Linked DNA regions of Homo sapiens: all the other regions are linked to region 2. The links are contacts of gene promoters, found by promoter capture Hi-C in human tissues and cell types (Jung and others, 2019). All regions are on one chromosome and are shown on one strand. The core of a region is centred on a gene start or on the middle of the fragment in contact, and the rest is flanking DNA. Distances in the headings are between cores, read along the strand shown. Region 1 overlaps LINC02398 (long intergenic non-protein coding RNA 2398). Region 2 holds the start of PDE3A (phosphodiesterase 3A). Region 3 overlaps LINC02398 (long intergenic non-protein coding RNA 2398). Region 4 overlaps LINC02398 (long intergenic non-protein coding RNA 2398). Region 5 overlaps LOC105369685 (a long non-coding RNA gene).

Region 1 (5,113 bases), core at 2,385-4,884, 350 kb after region 2:
TCAGTCAGTAAAGATAGAGACTTTATGTTTTCAAGGCATAGGTATGGCAACATCATGCTTGGAAGAAAATAAAATGTGCCTGCAACTGTGATCGCACATGCCATAAAAATAATACCACCATCTGCAAATAGGAACTCACATTTGTATTAGGCTGTGGCTTATTTTCTACAGAAAGAGGACTCGTTTAATCATTTTTCATGGAAAGCAAAACACTACAAAGGAAATATAAGATTTTTTTTGACATTTTACTCTTTCAATGCAGATCTTTGTTCTTTTTCAGAGAATAATATTCTCTTAGTAAGTACCTCTTTCGCTGTCATGAAAAGTCTAACTTTTTAAGAATGAGAATCTAAAATGTCTGTCTTCTAGCACAGATTAGGAGGGACTCTTCAAAATATGCTATGCTGTAAATCGGGGAGGCTTCTGGCCCTTGTCTCAAGCTGTGTTGTACTAAACATGTTAAATAAATCAGCAAAGAAGTATTTTTAAAGATAAAAATAAAAATATTCATGCTCATAATATATCAAGTGACCTCTGAAATAAGAAATGGCATAAAAAAGAGGAAAATTAAAATGCGGGATGGGTTGCAAATTCATGAAAACATATATCTCCACTTTTCCACGTTCACTCCCTGCTGCTGCTGCTGCCACTCCTGTTCTCGGATGCTCAGAAGAAGCTTTCTCGTTTACGAACACACTGATATTTCCTCTAGGGAAGGAAAACAGTCCACTAGTGGTGCAATAACCTAAAAGGGAAACATCTGTTTGGAGCATGGAGCAATTTGTTGGCCCAGTTCACAATACAAAGATTGCAGCTGAAATCCTCTATACGATTCTGCAGGTCTCACCAGATCACAAGGAAAGGAAAATTGGTCTTTATAGGAGCATCTCCTGGGACCTAACTGGATTAAAGAATAGGCTGTGTTTTTCATTTAGATAAAGTTTTTTTAGATAAAGATTTTTTTAATAGTACAGAAAATTCGAGAAAAACAGCACTTAATAAAAGGATACGGCTAAAACAGTAAATTTTACGTTATGTGTATTTTATCACAAAAAAGAAAGATAAAAGGAAAAAAACAAGACACATCCTACTCCTCACATTTCAGATTCTAAAACAGGTGTTAAAAACCCCAAATCTGAATATTACCAAAGTAAATCTAACTTGAAGGAGACTTTTGCTGTAAATTTGCATCCTCAACTTTTACTAAGAGGCCTTTTGTTTCTGTAGAGACTAATGTCATTTTTAAGGTTTTGGTCCTTCAAAAGGGCCATCCTCTCATCCTATCAAGCCTGTGTTCACTGAGAGGGTTTAGAACATACCCAGAGGTGTGAGGATCTAACATTAGGTGTTACATGTACATGAAACTAGCATGAAAAAGAAGAGATAGGAATATGTTGAAAAGTTATTGGAATATAAACTAATCTAAAAATAAATACATAAATACTGTACCTCTTTTCAAAGCACCATACTGAATTTTACAAGTAGACAATAATGAAGTGGCTAGACAAATCTGGCAAACAAACTAGGTGCATTAATTACCATGAGGCTGCTGCTAACCGACAACTGTTTGGTGTCACCCACCATACATTTGAAAATAATTGCATTTAAAACTGGGTATCACTGGTTATATAGTTTGGGGCTAATTTATTTATTTTCAAATTGCTTCATAAAACATAACTGATAAAAGAGAAAATAGATACATTAGGCAACATACTCACATTTGAGTCATATCTAATACTTGTATGTCAATAAATTAAATAAAATCTAAACTAACCATTGTTAATAAAAATTCCATTTGAACTTCTATAAATTTGTGGTCATATGAACCACTGTAGAATGTAACTTGATTATTCCACAATGTATATGTACTTCAAAACATCATGTTGTACATGATAAATGTATACAATTTTATCCACAATTTAACAATAAAAAACTTTTTAAAAAATTAAGAGGATTAAAAAATGATATGTCAGGTTAAGTGCAGTGGCTCACAACTGTAATCCCAGCACGTGGTGGCACCAAGGTAGGAGGACTGCTTGAGTCCAGGAGTTTGAGACCAGCCTGGGCAAGACAGTTGGACTCAGTCTCTAAAAAAGAAAAAGAAAATTAGACAGGCGTGGTGGTGGTGGCGCACACCTGTGATCCCAACTACTCAGGTGGCTGAGGCGGGAGGATCTCTTGAGCCCAGGATTTCAAGGATTCAGTGACCTGTGATGATGCCACTGCGCTCCAGTCTGGGCAGAGAGCAACACCTAGTCTCTTAAAAAAAATTTTTTAAAGATATGTCATGCTGGCCAAGCACAGTGGCTCACGCCTGTAATCCCAGCACTTTGGGAGGCTGAGGCGGGCAGATCACCTGAGGTCAGGAGCTCAAGACCAGCCTGGCCAACATGGCAAAACCCCATTTCTACTAAAAGTACAAAAATTAGCCGGGTGTGGTGGCAGGCACCTGTAATCCCAGCTACTCAGGAGGCTGAGGCAGGAGAAGCTTGAACCAGGGCGGCCGAGGTTGCAGTGAGCCGAGATTGAGCCACTACACTCCAGCCTGGGTGACAAAAGCAAGACTCAAAAAAACAAAACAAAAACAAAAAGGTATGTCATGCTAACTAATCAAAAATAAATAAAACATAAGTTTAAATTAGGGGAAAAATATAATTCAAAATTATTAAAAGAGAAAAGAAAAAAATTTTATCTCTTTATTTTAAAAAAATTCCAAAGAAACTACAGACAATCCTTTCACAACATGAATTTAGAACTTTTCCTCGTCATCCTCTATTTTCAAAGAAATGACTACATACATTTGATGTATGATCCGATTCAACACAGGGCTACAGCTATCAGTGTTTTAAATAATCTATTATTAGTTAACAATAAACTGACTGGTACAACAAATCCTTACTTGTCAACAGGTATTTGTCAGGAGGCCAGACTTCTAGTTATGATGATGAGTGTTTGTGTTACACTGCTAAGTTTGCAAAGTAATTTTTCACATGCAGTATTTCATTTGAATCCCACTGCTCCCTAATAAAGTATTATCACCAGTCTCCTTTGACAGAGAAGTAAAGTGACAAAGTCAAAACGTTAGTACAGAAAAGAGTTTCAAATAGAACTCTGCTGCTATAACTCCAGTTACGCAGAATCTTTCCAAAAAAAAAAAGCTCAAAATACAACTTGAAATGCAGAAATAAAAACAACCACAAAGGCTTTGAGAGTTTTAATTATTTGTATCAAGTGAATATTCTAGTATTCAAGCACTTTTAAGTAATAGTTCATAGTTGATACTTTGAGACCTACGAAGAAGGCACAAGACAAAAAAGAAAGGAAGGAAGGAAGGAAGACATAAGAATAATAAAAGCATAAGGTTCTGTTGGCAAACTTTGTTCTCTCATAGGGCAACATAGGATTATCATTTATCAGTACTTTCTAGGGGGTTGTCATAACAAAGCGTCACAGATTGGGTGATTGATTTAAACAACAGAAATTTTGTTCTCCTGGTTCTGGAGGCTAGAAGGTTGAGATCAAAGAGCAATGACCACCTTTTCCCTGAGTCTTCAGATCATCTTCCTTCTGTATGTGTCTGTGTCCAAATTTCCTCTTTTTATGAGGGCACCAGTCATACTGGATTAGAGCCCACCTTAATGACCTCTTTTTAACTTAATTACCTCTTTAAAGACCCTATTTCCAAATACAGTCACATTTTGTGGTACTGGGGGTTAAGATTTCAACATATGAATTTCAGGAGACACAATTTAGCTCATAATATATAACTCACAAATATTTACCACCCACTTACTATGTGCAGAGCACCATGCTGAACTCAGAGTACTAATCCCTGCCCTTGATGGAATATCCACCTATGTATGTAGATATGACACAAAACTGAAAGCTAAATAAAACTCCAAAAGTCAAATGACAACAAAATAGACTATTGCAACTTCATAATCTTTTTGGCCCACATGACAAAAGTTATATTTTATCAGTATATCCTTTTCAGTAGGGAACTATGTACTAGATTTTAGGAAGAATACTCCTCAAATGGTTAAAATATTTATAACTTGCTGTTCTGTCAACTGCCTGAAAAATCAATTAGCATCATATATTCCATTAATTGATAATAAAGATATCACTATTATATTATCAGAAAAAAACTTTTTAAATGACTAAGAAAGTTAGTACATAAAATATACTAAAAAAGGGAACAATATGAATTTGTAAGTTTGCAACAAAGGGAAAAATGTAAATAATGTGATAGCCACCAGTGAAAGGAATAAATAGCTTTAAATACAGTGGCTAGCTTCAGCTTGTTTTTCTAGTTCTTTAAAAATATATGTATAGTTTCAGCCGGGCGCGGTGGCTCATGCCCGTAATCTCAGCACTTTGGGAGGCCGAGGTGGGCAGATCACGAGGTCAGGAGATCGAGACCATCCTGGCTAACACGGTGAAACCCTGTCTCTACTAAAAATACAAAAAATTGGCTGGGTGTGGTGGCGGGCACCTGTAGTCCCAGCTACTTGGGAGGCTGAGGCAGGAGAATGGCATGAACCCGGGAGATGGAGCTTGCAGTGAGCTGAGATGGCGCCACTGCACTCCAGCCTGGGTGACAGAGCAAGACTCCGACTCAAAAAATATTCTCCTTTCTATTTTTTTTTTTTTGTACTTGAGGTTTTTGTTGAACCCAAACCAAAACATTTGAAAATATTTTGAAATATGTGAAAAGTATAATATACATCTGGATTTGCCCAACCCTAGTAAGGATACAGGAAGCATTATTTTTATTTAACGTTTATATGATAGCTGCAGTGTGTCTCAATCCTAAGGTATTTTTTACAATAGCCCTATGGTGCAGGTTATAATTATTATTTTCATTTTGGGCAAGAAATTTACCAGTACTTGCACAGTGGGCTTCAAGTAGAGGTTTTTATAGGTCTGTGTTCTTTAGAGGTTTTTGTTGGTAGGAACATTGAACCAGTAGACACAAACCTAGCTCCAAGTCTTGGCTTTACTTCTTATTGACAATTACATTGTATATCTTCTTGGTAGATTTTATCATTTTGCAGTTTCTCCCTTTCCTTACTAATATATTTTGATTTAAACACAATTTTGCCAGGTATTA
Region 2 (5,128 bases), core at 492-2,991:
CCAAGAGCCGAGAGAGGAGTTGCCAGTGCTTACCTGTTCCCTCGGTATACAGGGCAGGGAGGTCCTCCGATGGGACTTGCTGCTGCAGCCGGACATCTCGGCGGACACGACGGAGCTGGACCGCCTCCTCCTCTTAAACACCGGGATATCTTCCTTGGTCCCAGCAATCAGCTGGGACCCCAAATGCTCCCTTGGAGCCGCCTCCGCGGACTGCGGCAAGATTTGTTCCACGTACCTGGCCAAGAGGATCCCCAGCACGCCGGCCAGGTACGCCAGGTAAGGTCTCCAGGCGACCTTGAACCTCTCTAAGGAAATGAGGGACACGGTCCTGACCGCGCTAGTCAAGGCGATCATGAGGACGCCCAGCCTCAGCCTCAGCACCAGCCATGTCGCGGCGGCCAAGCAGCTGAGCACCACCCCCGCGGCGGGGAGTGAGAGTAAGTGATCCTCCCCGACGCCCAGCCCAATCTGGACGAGCGCTTCCCCCCCGCAGCAGGCGGCCAGCAGCGCGACAGCCAGAGGCAGGCGCACCCCGGCGCGCAGGAGGTACAAGCCCATCCAGAAGAAGGCACACAGGAGACTGAAGAGCAGCGCCGAGGGCTGCAGCCAGGGGCTGAGCCGCGCACCGCCCCCGGGAGCACCTCCCCGAGGCCCCGGGAAGACGCCCCCTTCTGCTCCCGGGGCTGCTTCCTCCTCCTCCGCCGCCGCCGCCTCCTTACACTGCTCCAGGTCACAGCCGACCTCCCCGCGGACCAGCCTCACCAGCAGCGCCAGCAGAAAGGACAGGGAGCCCGCGCACAGCGCGGAGGAAAGTTTCCGAGAGCTCCGGAGCGGCTGCAGCACCAGGTCTCCCCAGCAGCCACGGCAGCCCGAGTCCCGCGGCGATGCGGGGTCCGCACGATGGTGGCAGTCCCGGCCCGCCGTGGGGGCTTGACTCACCCCACTGTGGACGGGCTTGTCCCTGACTCGTGCAGCGTCGCCGGGCACTGCCATGGTATAGGGTGCCCTCTTCACTGAATTCCCAGTGGCCCCCCGACGCCCCCGCCCCGACCCACGCGCGCGCGCGCACACACACACACACACACACGCACGCACGCTCTTCCCAATTCCACCCTCGGAATCCTTCTTCTCCCCAGGCCCACAATCCACTGAAAGTTTCAGCTTTCGAATAACTCCTGGAGAATGCTAGATGCTCCAATGAGACTTCTTCAAGTTAAAGGCTAGCACGCTCAAGTTGAAAACAAGCACGGGCAGAAACGATCAGGATTCCCCTTTTCTCTCTTTGAATATCTTTCACAGATTCTCTGCTCCACCCCCACCCCCGACTTATATCCTCCGGGGTCTCTTCCTACTTCAGGATTTCAAAAATTGCCCAATGCATCCCGCGCGCAGGAGCCGCTGACGCTGGAGGAGCCGGGGGCGCAGGGCGGGCTCCGGGCCATTCCGAGGCGCAGCTCGGCGCTGCGCTGCGCTGCAGCGCGCCGGGCCCGCGGCAGATGGAGGTCTCCCTTCTCCTCCTTCCTGCAGCTCTTTTTCTATCACTCTTTCTTTCTCCTCGGCCGATTCTCCCCGGCACGGCCCCAGGACGCGAATCGCCATTCCCTGGGGCAGAAAGCAAAGCCTCCCCCGCCTCTGTCAATCCAATTCATGGCAAAGGATGGAAAAAAAAAAATGGACAAGGGGCTGAGAAATAAGAAGTTGCTAAGTCCCGTCGGAGAGAGAGCCAGACCGAGAGACTAGCGGCAGCCGCAGAAGGGAGGGAGGGAGAAGGAGCGAGTAAGAGAGGAAGGGAGGGTGAGAAGAAAGGGAGGGTGAGAAGGGAGAAGGAGATTTGCTTTTTTTTTCCCTCCCCACTTCTATTTGATGCAAGGTTGGTGGTGATTTGCAGTTTTGCAAAGGGGAAACGAGTGGCGACGACTGCTTAAAATTGTATAAAACTGGCAACTGGAGTGATCGACAATTCCGCTTTCTTTCTTTAAGGCAACTCCCTAGGAAAGCTTTCTCAGCCGAGCTCCCGCCCCCTCCTGCGGAGGAGGCGCTACCCTCAGCTCGATTGCTCCTTTGCTGGGAAAGCGGCCGGTTCACCCTACAGGCTGGAGCAGGGGCTGCTGAGGCTGATCCACCGCGCAGCCCACCGCAGCCCCGGGGTGTGGGGGGCTGCGGCTAGCCCTGAGGCTGAGCTCCCTAGAACGTTGGAAGGAAAAAAAAAAAAAAAAGATTGTGTTTGCCTACTTGGCAGATGAGAGCCAACATACTTTCTACTGTCCCTGAAAATGACAGCCACTTCTACTGTCTGATTCAAAGATGTTCCCAAGTCAGGTACAACAGCAGTCCAATTTCAGGTGACAGTGTCATCCTTTGGTCGCTCCTGCTGGAAGGTCTGCTTTATGAGAACCCAAGCCTGGCCTGTTGGTTCAAATGATGGAAGAATCAGCCTTACCTAGACCACAATAGTATAAAAAGAAAGGAAGGAGAGGCAGCAGTCATTTAAATCCAGTGCATGAGTATTACACAATAGTTTTTGACTGTGGAAAGTAAAATTACATTGAGATTAAGTGACCGTATCCTCAAAAAAGGTTAACAAAGTTTAAAAGCCCAGATAGTTCATCAAAAAATAAAGAAAAATCTCAAGGGAGAGGTGAGGATAGGTGGGTTAACACTAGGAGAGATCTTAGAAGACTGTCTATGGCTGCAAAATACTACATCTTCGAGCAAAGCATATGAAAAAAATCAGGACCTTAGTTATTAATGAGTAAAGGTTCGTGTACTGCAGCAGTGTGATATTTGAGAAACTAAAAGAAAATTTTCAAGCTAACCTTTTTTTGGCAGATTATGAAAAAGAATTCAGTATCTGTTCAATGGACTTAAACTCTATTGATGTTCCCTGGGATCTAGTTGTCTTTTTAATATGATACTCCACTTTTAACATGGCTATCTTAGATGTCATTTGCCCTCACTAATAATAATCTTAATAATCCAATTTTGTCTTAATTATCTTGACATTCCAGGTTAAAGTGTATTTACAGCCTAGAGCATTTAGATAATTGATTCAATATGCCACTGTATTTTGTATGTAGACATGAAGCAATAAAAAAAGCCAAAAGGAGATCCTTGAGATAAAATTAATTTATGGGGACAGGGGGAGAAGATGACTTAAGTTTTAAACAGCTTCATGGGAAGCAGCCTGTTCTAGTAGAAGGCAGATATACTATAAAGGTATAGCTTCTCTCTGTCAGATGTCCAGAATTGTGCTACCACACAGGAGTATGAGTTGGGCAGCTAGTCAATGGCAGTGGGCACCATCTGTTTAATAATTAAGGAAACAGGAGCAGCAATGTCTTTGCCAAAGACAAATGAGCCCCCTAGCACGCACACATACTTTCATGAGTTTCCTTTTTAGACATATGATTCATATGCCAGATCCTACCTGGGACACATCGGAGTGAAAAACCTTGATTGGAAAATCATTCATATCTGTTGGCATCAAAAATAACATATTAAAATAATAAACCAAAAATCTGGCATATATCAAGGTTAAAAAGAAAAGCATAGTAAGGGAAATTTTAGAATATTTCAATTTTATCTGTCCCCTACCCCCACAATTATCTCAGTTCTTTAGAAAATTTAATATAATATTATCATAAAAACTGAACACTTAAGGTATGGGAAGCAGATGTTTTTTAAAAGTTGTAACAGGAAAAAATGGCATTTGCTAATGGCAGCAAAACAAGAATATTCTAAATCCATGTGTTAATAACATCCTGGAACTCTTCAATAAAATAAGGAGGCAATGTCCTGGCATCCAGGTTTCTTTAACAAATCATAATCAAAAAGTTATTTGTCCCATCAAAAGGAAAGAAGGTAGATTTTTCTCCCCATACCATCCAGAACCCAGAGGCAAGTGAACAAAGACAACAAAATGCTAATGTTAGAGAGATGCAGAAACCTGCAGGGCTATACTAACTGAAAGAAGCGACTAATAATGTACCTTTAACAGAGTATATTAAATGAAATAAGCTGCAATACATAAACTGGATAGGGAGCAATCACATATAAACACTGCCTCTTTTCTACAGATAGTGGTGAGTCCTAGTTCAAGAAAGTGACAACACAGCCAAAGAATAAGGAAAATGTTGTACGTGCAGAAAAATAGTAGAGCATGGACAACAGAAATAAAAATTTAAGTTTTACTTGATAAATCTTCCACTTAGTCAAATCTAGCAAACATGTTTTTACAGTTTTTTGGGAAAAGGATCTAACCCTTCACATTTGAGCTTTATTAAATATAGTTAAGCGTCAGGGGATTCTATTGTAAAATTCAGTAAGTTTACGTTCCGTAGTATGGGTTCAATCATTCTCTGCTACCTATCTGATTATTATATATTTATATCTAATAGGTACCTAAAACATAAGGTATCCAAAACAAAATTCTTAACTTACAATTCCCTTCCTACCTATCCCCTACCCACCCAAACTATATTTTCTCAATCTTGTTACATCCCAGTAAAGAACATAACCATCTACCTAGTTGCTCAGGCCCCAGAAGAGGGAACGGGTCTTGATTCTTTCCTTTGTTTATCTTGTTTTACTTTTAGTCGATTAGGAAATCCACTTGATCCTGTCTCTAAAATATATTCTAAATCCATTTACTTTTCACTGTCCCTCTTATAATAACCTGCCAAAGACCCATCATCTTCCTTGGCCAGGACAAGTGCAGTAACTAACTGATCTTGCCCTACTTATAATTCATTTTCTATATAGCAGAGTAACACTTTAAAAATATAAATTGAATTATGTCCCTCCCCTATTTAAAACTACCCAAAGGCTACCCATCGTACTTGCAGAATGCAGTCCTCATCACAGTCCTCATGACAGTCCTACAAGGACCTTCATGATCTTTCCAAGTAATTCTCTCTGACCTCTCCTCCTATTCCAATGCTCCTACTTCACTGGTGAAGTACTATTTATTAGAACTTTCTTCAATGACAAATAGACCCTCTGCTGTCCAACATGGTTGCCACTAACCACATGTGGCCATTGAATACTTGAACCATGGTTGGTGTCACTGAGGAGCTGAACTTTTGTATTTTATTTTAATTTAAATTTTAATACATTCACTTGGCTAGTG
Region 3 (4,606 bases), core at 642-3,141, 300 kb after region 2:
TATGGCCATTTTTGTGGTATTGATTCTTCCTATCCACGAGAATAGAATGTTTTTCCATTTGTTTGTGTCTTCTCTTATTTCCATGAGCAGTGATTTGTAGTTCTCCTTGAAGAGGTCCTTCACATCCCTGGTTAGCTGTATCCCTAGGTATTTTGTTCTCTTAGTAGCAATTGTAAATGGGAGTTCTTAATTTGGCTCTCTGCGTGCCTATTGTAGGCGTAAAGGAATGCTAGTGACTTTTGCATATTGATTTTGTATCCCGAGACTTTGCTGAAGTTGTTAAACAGTTCAAGAAGCTTTTGGCCTGAGATGATAGGGTTTTCTAAATATAAAATCATGTCATCTTCAAAAAGAGACAACTTGACTTTCTCTCTTCCTATTTGAATACCCTTTATTTCTTTCTCTTACCTAATTGCCCTGGCCAGAACTTCCAATACTATGTTGAATAGGAGTGGTGAGACAGGGCATCCTTGTCTTGGACTGGTTTTCAAAGGGAATGATTTCAGCTTTTGCCCATTCAAAATGATACTAGCTATGGGTTTGTCATAAATAGCTCTTATTATTTTGAGGTGTGTTCCATCAATACCCAGTTTATTGAGAATTTTTAGCATGAAGGGATGTTGAATTTTATCAAAGGCCTTTTCTGCATCTATTGAGATAATTATGTGGTTTTTGTCTTTGGTTCTGTTTATGTGATGGATTATGTTTATTGATTTGCATATGTTGAACCAGCCTTGCATGCCAGGGATGAAGCTGACTTGATCGTGGTGGATAAGTTTTTTGATGTGCTGCTGGATTCAATTTGCCAGTATTTTATTGAGGATTTTTGCATCGATTTTCATCAGAGATATTGGCCTGAAGTTTTATTTTTTTGTTGTGTCTTCTCGGTTTTGGTATCAGGATGATGCTGGCTTCATAAAATGAATTAGAGAGGAGTCCCTCCTTTTCAATTGTTTGGAATAGTTCCTGAATGAATAGTACTACCTCTTCTTTGTATTTCTGGTAGAATTTGGCTGTGAATCCATCTGGTCCTGGGATTTTTTTGGCTGGTAGGCTATTAATTACTGCCTCAATTTCAGAGCTTGTTATTGGTCTATTCAGGGATTCAATATCTTCCTGGTTATTCTTGGTAGGGGTTATGCATCCAGAAAATCATCCATTTCTTCTAGATTTTCTAGTTTATTTGCATAGAGGTGTTTGTAGTGATCCCTGATGGTAGTTCGTATTTCTGTGGGGTCAGTGGTGATATCACCTTAGTCATTTTTTATTGTGTCCACTTGATTCTTCTCTCTTTTCTTATTAGTCTAGCTAGTGGTCTATTTATTTTTTTAATTTTTTCAAAAAGCCATCTCTTGGATTCATGGATTTTTTTGAGGGTTTTTCACATCTGTATCTCCTTCAATTCTTCTCTGATCTTAGTTACATCTTGTCTTCTACTAGCTTTTGGATTAGTTTGCTCTTGCCTCTCTAGCTCTTTTAATTGTGATATTAGGGTGTCTTTCTAGCTTTCTGATGTGGGCATTTGGTGCGATAAATTTCCCTCTTAACACTGTTTTAGCTGTGTGCCAGATATTCTGGTACGTTGTCTCTTTGTTCTCATTTGTTTCAAAGAACTTCTTGATTTCTATCTTAATTTCCTTATTTACCCAGGAGTCGTTCAGAAGCAGGTTGTTCTATTTCCATGAAATTGTGTAGTTTTGAGTGAGTTTCTTCATCCTGAGTTCTAATTTAATTGCACTATGGTCTGAGAGACTGTTATGATTACAGCTCTTTTGCATTTATTTGCTGAGGAGTGTTTTACTTCCAATTATGTGGTCGATTTTAGAAAAGGTGCCACGTGGCTCTGAGAAAAATGTATATTCTGTTGATTTGGGGTAGAGAGTTCTGTAGACATCTACTAGGTCCACTTGACCCAGAGCTGAGTTCAAGTCCTGAATATCCTTGTTAATTTTCTGTCTTGTTGATCTAATACTGACACTGGGGTGTTAAAGTCTCCCACTGTTATTGTGTGGGAGTCTAAGTCTCTTTGTAGGTCTCTAAGAACTTGTTTTATGAAGCTGGGTGCTCCTGTATTGGGCTCATATATATATTCAGAATAGTTAGCTCTGCTGGTTGAATTGTTCCCTTTACCATTGTGTAATGCTCTTTGTCTTTTTTTTATCTTTGTTGGTTTAAAGTCTGTCTTGTCAAAGAATAGGATTGCAACCCCTGCTTTTTTTTTGTTTTCCATTTGCTTGGTTAATTTCCTCCATCCCTTTATTTTAAGCCTGTGTGTGTCTTTGTATGTAAGATAGGTCTCCTGAATACAGCACATCTATGGGTTTTGATTCTTTATCCAATTGGCATTTAATTGTGTGTCTTTTAATTGGGGCATTTAGCCCATTATATTTAAGGTTAGTATTGTTATGTATGAATTTGATCCTGTCATCATGATGCTATTTGGTTATTTTGCACACGAGTTGATGCAGTTTCTTTATTGTGTCATTGGTCTTTATATTTTGGTGTGTTTTTGCAGTGGCTGGTGCAAGTTTTTCCTTTCCATATTTAGTGCTTCTTCAATGAGCTCTTGCAGGGCAGGCCTGGTGGTAACAATATCCCTCACCATTTGCTTGTCCGGAAAGGATTTTATTTCTCCTTCACTTGTGAAGCTTAGTTTGCCTGGATATGAAATTTTGGGTTGAAAATTCTTTTCTTTGAGAATGTTAAATATTGGACCCCAGTCTTTTCTGGCTTGTAGAGTTTCTGCTGAGTGGCCCGCTGTTAGTCTGATGGGCTTACCTTTGTAGGTGACCTGGCCTTTCTCTCTGGCTGCCCTTAATAGTTTTTCCTTCATTTCGATCTTGAAGAATCTGATGATTATGTGTCTTGTGGTTGATCTTCTCATGGAGTATCTTAATGGTGTTCTCCGTATTTTCTCAATTTGCATGTTAGCCTGTCTTGCTAGACTGGGGAAGTTCTCCTGGGTAATATCCTGAAGTGTGTTTTCCAGCTTGTTTCCATTCTCCCCCTCTCCTTATGGTACTCCAATCAATCATAGGTTTGGTCTTTTTATGAAGTCTGATATTTCTTGGAGGCTTTGTTCATTCCTTTTCATTCTTTTTTCTGTATTCTTGTCTGCATGTCTTATTTCAGTAAGGTGGTCTTCAAACTCTGATATTCTTTCTTCCACTTGGTCGATTTGGCTGTTGATACTTGCATATGCTTCATGACGTTCTCGTGCTGTGTTTTTCAGCTCTATCAGGTCATTTATGTTTCTTTCTAACCTGGTTATTCTAGTTAGCAATTCCTCTAACCTTTTATCAAGGTTCTTAGCTTCTTTGCATTGAGTCAAAACATGCTCCTTTAGCTCAGCGTAGTTTTTTATTATCCGTCTTCTGAAGCCTACTTCTGTCAATTCGTCCATCTGATCCTCTGCCCAGTTCTGAGCCCTTGATGGAGAGACATTGCAATCATTTGGAGGAAAACAGGCACTCTGACCTTTTGGGTTTTCAGCATTTTTTTCATCGATTCTTTCTCATCTTCATGAGTTTGTCTAGTTTTGGTCTTTGAGGCTGCTGATCCTTGGATGGGGTTTTTGTGGGGGTCTTTTGTTGTTGTTGTTGTTGTTGATGGTATTGTGGTCACTTCGTGCTTGTTTATTTTTCTTTCAATAGTCAGGTCCCTCTTCTGTAGGGCTGCTGCAGTTTGCTGGTGGTTCATTTCAGGCCCTATTCATCTGATTTGCTCCTGTGCTTGGAAATGTCAATCAAGGAGGCTGGAGAAAAGCAAAGCTGGGTGCCTACTCCTTCTTCTGGGACCTCTGACCTTGAGGGTCACCAACCTGATGCCAGTAGGATCGTTCCTGTATAGGGTGTCTGACAACCCCTGTTGGATGGTCTCACCTAGTTGGGTGGCATGGGGAGCAGGACCCATTTAACAAAGCACTTTGTCCCTTGGTGGAGAGGGTGTGCTTTGCTGCGGGGAAACCCACTCACCTGGGCTCCCCAGATTCTTCAGAACAACCAGGAGGAAAGGCTAAGTCTGCTGGTCTGCAGAGACTGAGGCTACTCCTCCCCTAGAGGCTCAAGCCCAGGGAGATTCAAATTCTTTCCCTGAGCCTCTGGTGGGAGTTATTGGAGATCCTGCAAAGAAGCCCCATCCAATGAGGAAGGATGGGTCAGGGTTAGGCCTGAAGGGGCACTCTGGCCACAGATTGCCACAGCTGGTGTGTTGGGCTGTGGGGACAAGTCTTGGGACCAAGCCGTCCAGCCTCCCTGGCTCCAGCAGGGGAAAAGGCCAGCCTGGAGCTATAGAAATGGGTGCCGCCCTTCCCCAGCACAGGGAGCTTAGCTTGTTAGGCAGTTGCAAGTCCCGGTGCTGGATGCTGCTTCCCCAAGGAGCTCAAATGGTTTAGATAGCAGGCAGACATGCCTGGTGCTGGTCACCTCTCCCCAAGGAGTTCCATAGGCTTAAGCAGATTCCAGCTGAAAGGCTGTAAGAATCTGCATGTTCTGGGGTTGGGACCCTGGTTCCCAGTGGTATGAGTTCGCTAGTGGGATCTTCTGATTCATGGGTTGCACAGTTCTGTGGAAAGAGCACAGCTCCCCAGCTGAGTAGCATGCTCTCT
Region 4 (4,982 bases), core at 846-3,345, 330 kb after region 2:
ATGTAGAGGGGTAAAAAATGACAGAGGTTGAAAATATAGGCCCTTAGATCAATCAACTCTCTTACTAACTACACTGACTGGTCCAAATAAACTTCTCCATCCTCAGTTCTGTCAGAAAGCAGCAGAAATAAGACCTATTAAGTTATTCATAATATTCAGTAACATCTAGTCAGTTTTAATCTTTTGATATATCTCCTAATTATTATGTACTCAATTTAGAATTTTAGAAAACACCCGTCTCTTACTCCCCTTGTTTTCATCCTTCCTTTTTTCTGAAAATGTAAACTATGGTGCAAGAAAACACCACATTGTTCATCATAAATGAGAAAACTGGAGGTTTATTCAAAAGTGCTAGGTTTACAAAACTGAGCCAAGAATTTATAAGGTGTAGACTTTCTCTGACACCTGACAGCTTGAATTCCTCTGACTGTTTTGACACAGAAATATCAAGACATTAGCTTTCTGGCCCTTCTATATAATACCTTGCCAAACCCACAACATGTAGAAACCTATCAATGTGATAAAGAATATGAAAAACAAATCCTGGGAAAATGATTAAATTCGGTGGAGACTTTATTCCAATAGTCAAATTCATCTTTCTCGGAAGAAGTAGAGGAACCTGCTAACATCGCCTGGGAAAATTTGAAAATGAAATATGTTTACCTCTTTTTACTTATGCAAATAACATCTCAACTTAGTTAAAACAATAGATTCAAAACATCCTGTGATTGAAAGGGCAGATTTTTTTTTCAGTTACTTACCCCAACCGATTAAAAACAGAAAAATCATAATGTATGTCATAAACAGAAGTGACATAAAACATTTTCCCCAAAAAACAATGAAAAATTAGAAACAAATGCAAAAAGAAACACTAGAGAAATAAGAAGAAAAATATAGGTCATGGAGAAAAAGTGGTTTTGACCAAAATAAAGTTTTAAGACATTAAAGAACCAATCCACAGCTTTGATTTTGCCTGTATAATGTAGTTACTAAGGGCATAGGCTCAGCCACTTGATAGCTGGGTCATCTTGGGTAAATTACTTCATCTCTCCTCGTCTTGCTTCCCTCCTTTATATTGTAGCCATACCTACCTCAAATGTTATTATAAAGACTAAGGAATCTGATACTCGTATACTCTTAGAATCTGCACTGGTATATAAAAATATCTTACCGCATAACTGCCAAATAAATGTCACAACTTTATTAAACTTTAAAATGAATTTGAAAGGAAGCCACATTTAGAAAGCTGCTTAATGTATTGAATGCCATATTTTCTACCCTTTCCATGTAATATTGGGGGAGAGAGGAGAAATGCTATAAAGTTGTGCTCATCCTCTTTCAGCATCTTATTCATTTTTTAAGTTCTTACACTTATTTTAGAAGAATGCTGACACTAAACGTGATACAGTAATGAGTAGCAAGGTTAACTGCATCCTACATCTCTTGGTGGGGAGGTTATATTATTTTCTATCACTGTAATTAATTAAATGTTCTGCCTATAGCAAATCAACCATTATGTTAGGAATGGCATTAGATTATTTGCTAAGGTATATGTGTGCAAATATTATACTAACATGGAAGAGATGGAAGATATAATTAAGTCCCCGCAGTTGGTGTCTACATATGGAAAAAGTCAGCCCTCCATATACTCAGGTTTCATATCCCATAAACACTGTATTTCCCATCCACATGTAGTTGAAAAAATATCTCTGCAGTTCAAACCCATGTTGTTTAAGCTTCAACTGTATTATCTAAATATCTATTTTTTTTGAAGTTTGAAGTTTGGTCTAGAGCAGTGGTTTTCAAACTTTAGCATGTATTAGAATCACCTGAGGTCTCTAAAGATGGGTTGCTGGTTCCAATCCCAGAATTTCTGATTCAGTAGATCTGGGATGGGTCTGAATACGTGCATTTCTAACATGTTCTCAAGTGATGGTGATCTGGGAACCACACTTTGAGAACATTTACTTGAGACTTATATATTAGAGTCACTTGGGGAGATTTTTTAAAATACCAATAGTTAGTAAATCAGAATCTTTGGGGGTGGATGGATCTGGGTATCTACATTAAAAAGCAAACAAACAAACAAAAAGCCCTCCCTAGCTGAGTCTATGGTAGAGCCAGAATTGAGGATTCCTGGTCTAGAGAAATGGTTGTCAAGGACGGGTCCAGAATCAGATTCACTTGGAAGTTTTTCCAATGTCCTCCTTTCCCCATATCCAAGGTTGCACGATGCCCTAAGAAGAGGTGGAAATACAATTTTTAAATGTTTCTCAAAATTAATCTTGAGATTATTTTAGTTAAAATTACCTTATATTTATTAAAAATGAAGATCCCTTGCCTACCTACAAAGTCTCAGATGCTTCACACTTTACACAACACACCTGTGTTTGAAAATTAGTGGTGTAGGGTTAAGAAGGAGCGGGTTCTAATTATTTCTTGCAGGTTAGGAAGAGCACTGGAACCTCACAATCAATATAATAACTGGTGAATTCAGAGCTCCATAGCACCAGCCCTAGAGAGGTGAAAGAAGGATCCCTGCAAGCAGGAAGTCAGGACGGAAAGGGGCAGGTGGGCAGGGATAGAAAAGTGAGTGCTGAGTAGACGCTTCTCTCCTTACCAGAACCAGTAACCACCCTGCTGGCTGCTCCTCTAATTTGCCCTGGCACAAGGACAGAATGTGTTCTGCTGATACACGTTTCTAAAGCACCAAGCAGCCTCTGCTGACAGCTGGCTTGGTTGCTGTGTCAATGCAGAAAAAGTGAGAGAGCAAAAGAATTTGGTAAGAAAATATTTTTCTTTACTTTCCCTTCTAAATGGAGGGAAAAATCATGGTGGGGGTGGGGACAGATGGGATGCAAATGTGATTATGTAAGGTACTGAGAACAAGAAAGACTAATGCAAAATGTTTAGGACAGTGGGTATTAAGGAGAGAATTGACTTTGTGGAGCTGTTTGTCTTACTAACAGCCATTCAAAATCCAGCACCATATTACTTGTATGTATTGTTATTCTATTAGCGATGATTTCAAAATGCCTAGAACTATTTCTGGGCATCTGCAAAAGATAAAAGTGAATTAAGAACTCTCACATCACCTTGGAAAGATAAAGACTAGTTATGTGTTGTCAGCCATAGTCTTTCTCCACACGGCTTGCCAGAGTTGTTTTTTTTTTTCTTTTTTCTTTTTTTTTTTTTTTTCAGTTTTATTTCTAGAGCTGATGGTCTTCTGATGCCTTCACACCAAAAGGGAACCCAGCTCCGTTAGCTGGCTTCTAGGTGAATCTCTTGGCTGATGTTGTTTTCCATCAGCCTACAGCTTGGTTGTGCATTGGCAGTTTTATGCAATACTGGGTTCAGCAAAAGAAACAAAGGACAATTGGCTCTACTTAGTGAAATCTGCCTAAAGAATTTTATATCCCAGCATAGGTTTCTAATGAGATTCTCAAAAAAGTAAACAAATTCTAAGATATAAATATCAGTTCACTTATTAATGTCCCATGCTTCTAAGCAGCATTTTTCCATGTGTGCTGTGGATGGTCACTCTAACTCCTTAACAGTCATTTAAAATGTTACAATGAAAAATACACAAAGTACTAAAAATGCATCAAACATATCATAAAGTTGTAAAGTCAAATAATTCCCCTGCGAACTTCACTTGAAATGAGGAAACTGAAAGAGCTTGTTTTCTTTGCACTTTATCTGAAGTAACCAGAGGGTTTTATTTTTGTTAATTTATCAGATTTACTAAGATTGTTCTCATTTAAAGTAAAACTAATTCTAGGAAGATTGCATCTCCTTTGCTGTGCTATTGCTTGGCATTGTTGAAATAATAGCTACTATACCAACATGGCACATCTTTTCAGTAGTCTCATCCATTGTTGCTATTCTGTAAAAAGTGTAGACAGTTTGGAAAGCACGAGCAGACTAGATTTATATGCGGAGGGGTGAGAATAAAGAAAGAAAAGACAGCGGGAAGGCGCACTTTCCTTTGGGAGTGCAAGATTTAAGACAGCAGCAGTTCATGTCTGTGTCAAGAAAGGAAAATTTACAAATTCAGAATAGAAGCTTAGTTTTTACTGTATTTTGCAAAGAGAATTTCTTTCTTTCTTGAGAAAGGCCATAGATCCTGACAGCACATGTCAGAATGGGAAAATATTGCTCGAGTGAGCTGCCTACTGTGAATATAATGAAGTGAAATTTGTATATTTTTGTTTAGACTCAAAAGCACCACCATTTACTGGTATAAACTCATTTTAATGAGATTAGACAATTTTAGTAATAAAAATTTACAAGTGGAGTAGCTAAATGGTAAAATGGCAAACATGATGAGAATAAACATACATAAAAATCTTTCCAATTTTCCATGCAAAGTGTCCTTACAACAGATGATATAGAAAAAGACCATTTATTTTTCTAGCACTATTCTTTCCTTATGATGAGACTAAACGTACATTTGCTACTTTCTCCTATGCTGTTTTGGTCATTTACTACCATTTGAGCCATGAGATATGGCATTAAGTAACACTCTTACTAAAAATAAAAAAATTCATATTGGTTAAACTGATTATTGAAAATAGAAAAAAAAAGCATGTGCTTTTAAAACCAACAGATATGAATTAGTATTTTACCTCTAAGAGTTTCTGAATTGTGAGTGAAATCAAAATATTGCTCTAGGGCAGCAGTCTTGAAAATGTATTCTATGGACCCATAGGGGTCCTAGAGAACTTTTCAGGAGTTAGAAAGATCAACAGTGTTTTTATTATTATACTAAAGTGTTCTTTACTTCTTTGTGTTCACATTTGCACTGTTGGTGCAAAAGCAAAGGTGAGCAAAGCTATTTGTGCCTTAGCCCTACATAAGGCCATGGCACCCAACAACTTCTCTATACACTCTCAATCTAAAAAAAAAAAAAAAAGGTTTCAATTTAGAATTTCCTTCATGAAACAGTAAAAATTATCAATTTTATTAAATCTTGGTCCATT
Region 5 (5,187 bases), core at 1,578-4,077, 260 kb after region 2:
GCGGAGGTTGCAGTGAGCCGAGATCGCACCATTGTGTTCCAGCCTGGGCGACAGAGCGAGACTCTGTCTCAAAAGAAAAACAAAACAAAACAAAACTTGAAGAAGTAATCCACACACAGGAGTAAGTTTCACTTTTTTTCTTCCATTTCTGCTCCAAGAGTGGACCCCCGTTGGACAGTAGTACAATGCAGACATCTAAAACTCAAAACCCCACCTTCTCTTTTTCCAGATTAGTCATGAAAAAAAGCTCTAGCAGGCAGGAGAGTAAAAGAGACAGAGCCATAAAAAGTTTCTCCTAATTCTGTTTATGAACTCACAAGAGTCTTGTCCTAGGTTCTGAACCACACATGCACAGGACAGACAGAAATCAGGATAGCAAAGGCTTAGAAAACTGAACAGAGATGTAAGGCACCATGCACAGAAAATGAGTCAAAGCTCATAATATGCAACTAATTAGGTTGATTACCTGCTAAAGCAAAAACAACATCCTCCAATGGAATCTCACAGAAGCCAGAGTCTACACTCATAACATTTACAATGTGCTGCATAAAATCCAAATTACCTGACAAAGACCTATTCTTTTTTTCTTTTTCTGAGACAGTCTCGCACTGTCACTTCGGCTAGAGTGCAATGGCGCGATCTCGGCTCACTGCAACCTCCGCCTCCCGGGTTCATGTGATTCTCCTGCCTCAGCCTCCCGAGTAGCTGGGATTACAGGCGCACACCACCACACCTGGCTAATTTTTTTGTATTTTTAGTAGAGACGGGGTTTCACTATGTTGCCCAGACTAGTCTCAAACTCCTGACCTTGTGATTAGCCCGCCTCGGCCTCCCAAAGTGCTGAGATTATAGGCATGAGCCAACACACCCAGCCCCAAAGTCCCATTCTTAACGGAAAGGCAGCTGTAATAACTACATCCATACAAAAAGGAAAACAAAAAATAAATGAAAAATAGAAAATCACAATAGAGATATATACACTATAAAAAAGAGAAGTGAAAACTTAAGGACTAAAAAAATACAATGCCTGAAATAAAAATGTCAATTAATGGTCTTGAAAGTAGAATGAAGTGACAAAGAAAAGATTCTGTGAATTTGGAGATATGTCAATAAAAAGTATCCATATGAAGAACTGAGAGAAAAAATGTTTTTTAAAATATCTATAGCCTAAAGGATCTATGGATTAACACAAAAAGATCAAAGACGTGTATTTAGGCCTAGATATTTATAAAAGTTTAAGTATGTATATGATAATCCTCATAATTCCACTTTAAAAATACAGAGATGTAACCAAAAAGACAACAGATAAATTAAAATGAAATATTAAAACAAAAACTGTCAATCCAATAGAAGGCAGAAAAAGAAGAAACAAAAAACAGAAAAAACAAGCCCGTTCCCGCTCCCCAAAATGGTACACTGAAATCCAACCATATTAATAATTACATTAAATGTTAAAGATGTCAGACAAGTGAAACAAAATACTGCCTTACAGGCCAAATCCAGTCTGCCACCCATTTTTGTAAATAAAGTTTTATTGGAACACAGCCATGCTCATTTGTTTATATATTATCTATGGCTGCTTTGTATGACAATGAGAGTTGAATAGGTGCAACTGAAATTGTGTGGCCCACAAGGCCAAAAATATTTATTTGGTCCATTACAAAAAAAGTTCACCAACCATTGGTCTAAATCTCTGCTATGCAATAGAAATATAATACAAGCCACTTATGTGATTTTTTGCTGCAGGTACATAAAAAAGTAAGCAAACTTAAAAACAGGTGAAAATAATTTTTAAAATATATTTTATGTAACCCAATATGTCCAAATTATGATGTAAACACATAATCAATATAAAAAGGTATTTAAAAGATATTTTACAATCTTCCTACTAAGTCTTTGAAATCCTGTGTGTATTTCCAATAACAGCACAACTCAATTCATACCTGCCATATTTCAAGTGCTCAGTAGCCACATGTGGCACATAGCCATGGTAATGCATTGCACAAGTCTAAACACTTCAAGAGATGAGACTTTGGTAAGAGAGATCAGCATGTGTTGCTTGGGAAGAATGTAAATAATGGTAGCCAGAGAGAGGACTGTGATATATTAAATATGGCCACAAAAACATTGCAACTCCTGTCATTAAGTAGTGGAATCTATTTACCTATTCCTTGAAAATAGGCTTACCTTCTGACTTGTTTTGACTAACAGAACGTGATTAAAAAGTGTTGTATGAGTTCTAGAGCCTAATTCTCAATAAGTCTTGCAGCTTTTTCTTTACATGCTTGGAAATTACCCTTGTTGTTTAAGGAAGCCTGGATCCAACTTTTGAAGGATAAGAGATTTCACAGATCATTGATTACAAAGGCAATAGCCAACACCAACACCCCAGACATGAGAGGGATGCTACCTTCGATGCAGCCTCCCTGCCCGGCCCCAGTCAAGCCACCGATGACTGCTACTACCTGAGCAAGCCCAGGTGAGGCCTGCGGAAAACAGCCTGGCTTACCCAAGGCAAAATTTCAGAATCATGGGCACATACATGGTTGTTGTTTGAAGCCATTAGGTTTTGGAGGGCAGGAATGTAACGCAGCAATAGATGACTGACAGAATATAATTCTATAACCCACGTCACCTGTGTAAGGCCTTTCTGGGAAGTAGGATTTCTTGCTGAGCAAACTTCTATGCCTTTTACTAAAGTACTGAGAAAATTTAGCTGCTCTCTTGGGATGAAAAGAAATTTAGGGCTATTTTTAGCCCTCTCTGCCACTTATAGTTTCTAAACAGCTCTTTTCATTGCCTATTGTCACGTCTATGGCCAGGACACATCTGTAAGACTACACTTTCTGGCATTCCAGTGAAAAGAGCCATTTAGTCTCTCTACTCTCAGACTTACATTCCTACATTTAATAAGAAATGCTGTAATATTCCCTTTTTCTATGTTTTCTAAGATTATGGTTGTCTAACTCCCTCCTTCCCTCTACAGCTTAACAAGATTAGCTTATACGGTGGTGGAGTGGGTGGCTGCTTCTGCCCAGTCACCTCTTTTCCTAATTTTTTCCTGTCTTAAAGCTATTCATGACAGATTCCCTTTGAAAAACCTCTGGCTGGCCAAAATGCAGTCCGGTCACAAGTCTAAAGTATACGAATGAGAGTGAATAGAGAATGGGAAATACATTGGTTGTTTGCACATTATCCTACACTATGGTTTCAATGGTTGTCTCCTCTGAAATTTATGTTGAAGCTTAATCCCCAGCCTGGCAGTATTGAGAGGTGGGCCTTTAGGAGGTGACTGGGTCATGAGGGATGGATTAATCCATTCATAGATTAATGGATAAATGGGTCAATGGATGGGTTTTCACAGGAGTGGGACTGGTGGCTCTGTAAGAAGAGGAGGAGGCACCTGAGCTGGCACACTCAGCTCCTTCACCATGTGATGCCCTGCACCACCTCAAGACTGCAGAGTCCTTACCAACAAGACGGCACTCACCAAATGCAGCCCTTAGACCCTGGACTTCTCAGTCTTTTTAACTGTAAGAAATAAATTCCTTTTCTTTATAAATTACCCCATGTTTCAGGTACTCTGTTATAAGCAACACAAAACAGACTAAGACATCTTACCACATTCATCTATCCAAATAAGTTGCAAGTATATGGTCAGTAAGTTATCTTATAAGTGCTCCCACACTGAATGCATGGTAAATGCCAAATATGTAATTGTAATGTATTGGTTGAGCCAATAAATCCATCCAGATAGAATTCATGCCCTTCACATGTTGGTTTTACTCTTCTCTGGATGATGGTGTTACCTCCGATCATTTTGTACTCAGTTGGCATAAATTTTTCTCTAAGGCTGGGCACAGTGGTTCACACCTGCAATCCAAGCACTTTGGGAGGCTGGGACGGGCAGATCACCTGAGGCCAGGAGTTCAATACCAGCCTGGCCAACATGGTGAAATCCTGCCTCTACTAAAAATACAAAAATTAGCTGGGCGTGGTGGCAGGCGCCTGTAATCCCAGCTACCTGGGAGGCTGAGGCAGGAGAATTGCTTGAACCCAGGAGGTGGAGGTTGCAGTGGGCCGACATCGCGCCACTGCACTCCAGCCTGGGTGACAAAGTGAGACTCCATCTCAAAAAAAAAAAAAAATTCTCTAAACAGCCATGTAGACCATTAGTGTCTACTGGATAATTTTCTACTCAGAGACAAATAGAAAAGTGAATATGGGAGAGAAAGAGAGAGAATTATTGTTCACTTCATACCCATGAGAACATATTCTTAGTTCCCTTTTGACAGAAAATAGAGAAGTCCTTAATCTATAATTTTTGATGCTTTGATTAACCCAACAAAACAATAGCTGTGGTTTACAATCTGCTCCAATCAAGTAGATTTTATAGCTCACTGATTTTCTAAAATATCCTCATAAATAGATTCTATTATTATTACTATAAGACAGTGTTATTATGCCAGTCATTGACACAATGTATGTGGGAATCAGTGCAAGACCCTGGAACATTGGTCTGGCATGAAACATAAATGAGATGCCATTCATTATATGAATGAATAAAAATATGGCTGGGTGCGGTAGCTCACACTTGTAATCCCAGCACTTTGGGAGGCCAGGGCAGGCAGAACACTTGAACCCAGGAGTTTGAGACCAGTCTGGCAACATGGAAAAACCCCATCTCTACTAAAAATATAAAAAACTAGCCAGGTATGGTGGCACATCTTCAAGTCACAGCTACACGGGAGGCTCAGGCAGGAGAATCACCTGAGCTCAGCAACTCAAGGCTGCAGTTAGCCATGATCATACCACTGCACTCCAGCCTGGGTGACAGGAGTGTGACCCCGTCTATAGATTCTCTACTAATTTTCTAAATCATCAATGTGATTAGGAAATGGCAAGAGCTCAGATTTATCTAACAAGCAGCATTTTTTCAAAAATCCAAATTCTTTTTTTTTTTTTTTTTTTTTGAGACGGAGTCTTGCTCTGTCGCCCAGGCTGGAGTGCAGTGGCGTGATCTCGGCTCACTGCAAGCTCCACCTCCTGGGTTCATGCCATTCTCCTGCCTCAGCCTCCCGAGCAGCTGGGACTACAGGTGCCCACCACCATGCCCGGCTAATTGTTTTTTGTATTTTTTTTTTTAGTAGGGATGGGGTTTCACCGTGTTAGCCAGGATTGTCTCGA

What was found. The method cuts DNA at HindIII sites, captures the fragments that hold promoters and counts their contacts. A contact is called where the count stands out against the background at its distance.
Region 1: a fragment that was not itself captured here is called in contact with the fragment with the promoter of PDE3A in region 2 in 2 of the 25 tissues and cell types used here (bladder and mesenchymal stem cells).
Region 3: a contact is called between a fragment that was not itself captured here and the fragment with the promoter of PDE3A in region 2, in 2 of the 25 tissues and cell types used here (bladder and heart right ventricle).
Region 4: a contact is called between a fragment that was not itself captured here and the fragment with the promoter of PDE3A in region 2, in 1 of the 25 tissues and cell types used here (aorta).
Region 5: a fragment that was not itself captured here is called in contact with the fragment with the promoter of PDE3A in region 2 in 1 of the 25 tissues and cell types used here (dorsolateral prefrontal cortex).

The regions. Positions count from the first base shown.
Region 1 is chr12:20,020,006-20,025,118 of GRCh38, reverse strand. All of the region lies in intron 2 of LINC02398 (long intergenic non-protein coding RNA 2398), which reads right to left. Among named protein-coding and RNA genes, the nearest start is that of LINC02398, 7.9 kb to the right of the region's middle. The HindIII fragment of the contact is 4,103 bases long and covers 1,583-5,113 here.
Region 2 is chr12:20,365,150-20,370,277 of GRCh38, reverse strand. It overlaps PDE3A (phosphodiesterase 3A), which reads right to left and starts at 1,741. Exons shown (of 16, transcript NM_000921.5): 1 at 34-1,741. The coding sequence starts at 993. It overlaps PDE3A-AS1 (PDE3A antisense RNA 1), which reads left to right and starts at 22. Exons shown (of 2, transcript NR_186033.1): 1 at 22-437. RefSeq lists a silencer at 409-703. The HindIII fragment of the contact is 7,833 bases long and covers 1-3,780 here.
Region 3 is chr12:20,066,720-20,071,325 of GRCh38, reverse strand. The region is part of intron 2 of LINC02398 (long intergenic non-protein coding RNA 2398); the gene reads right to left. Among named protein-coding and RNA genes, the nearest start is that of LINC02398, 54 kb to the right of the region's middle. The HindIII fragment of the contact is 4,269 bases long and covers 1-4,025 here.
Region 4 is chr12:20,038,702-20,043,683 of GRCh38, reverse strand. The region is part of intron 2 of LINC02398 (long intergenic non-protein coding RNA 2398); the gene reads right to left. It overlaps LOC124902893 (a long non-coding RNA gene), which reads right to left. Exons shown (of 2, transcript XR_007063238.1): 2 at 4,234-4,982. Among named protein-coding and RNA genes, the nearest start is that of LINC02398, 27 kb to the right of the region's middle. The HindIII fragment of the contact is 5,431 bases long and covers 1-4,810 here.
Region 5 is chr12:20,102,965-20,108,151 of GRCh38, reverse strand. LOC105369685 (a long non-coding RNA gene) reads left to right here. Exons shown (of 4, transcript XR_001749038.3): 2 at 2,311-2,479; 3 at 3,365-3,533. Among named protein-coding and RNA genes, the nearest start is that of LINC02468, 22 kb to the left of the region's middle. The HindIII fragment of the contact is 4,215 bases long and covers 720-4,934 here.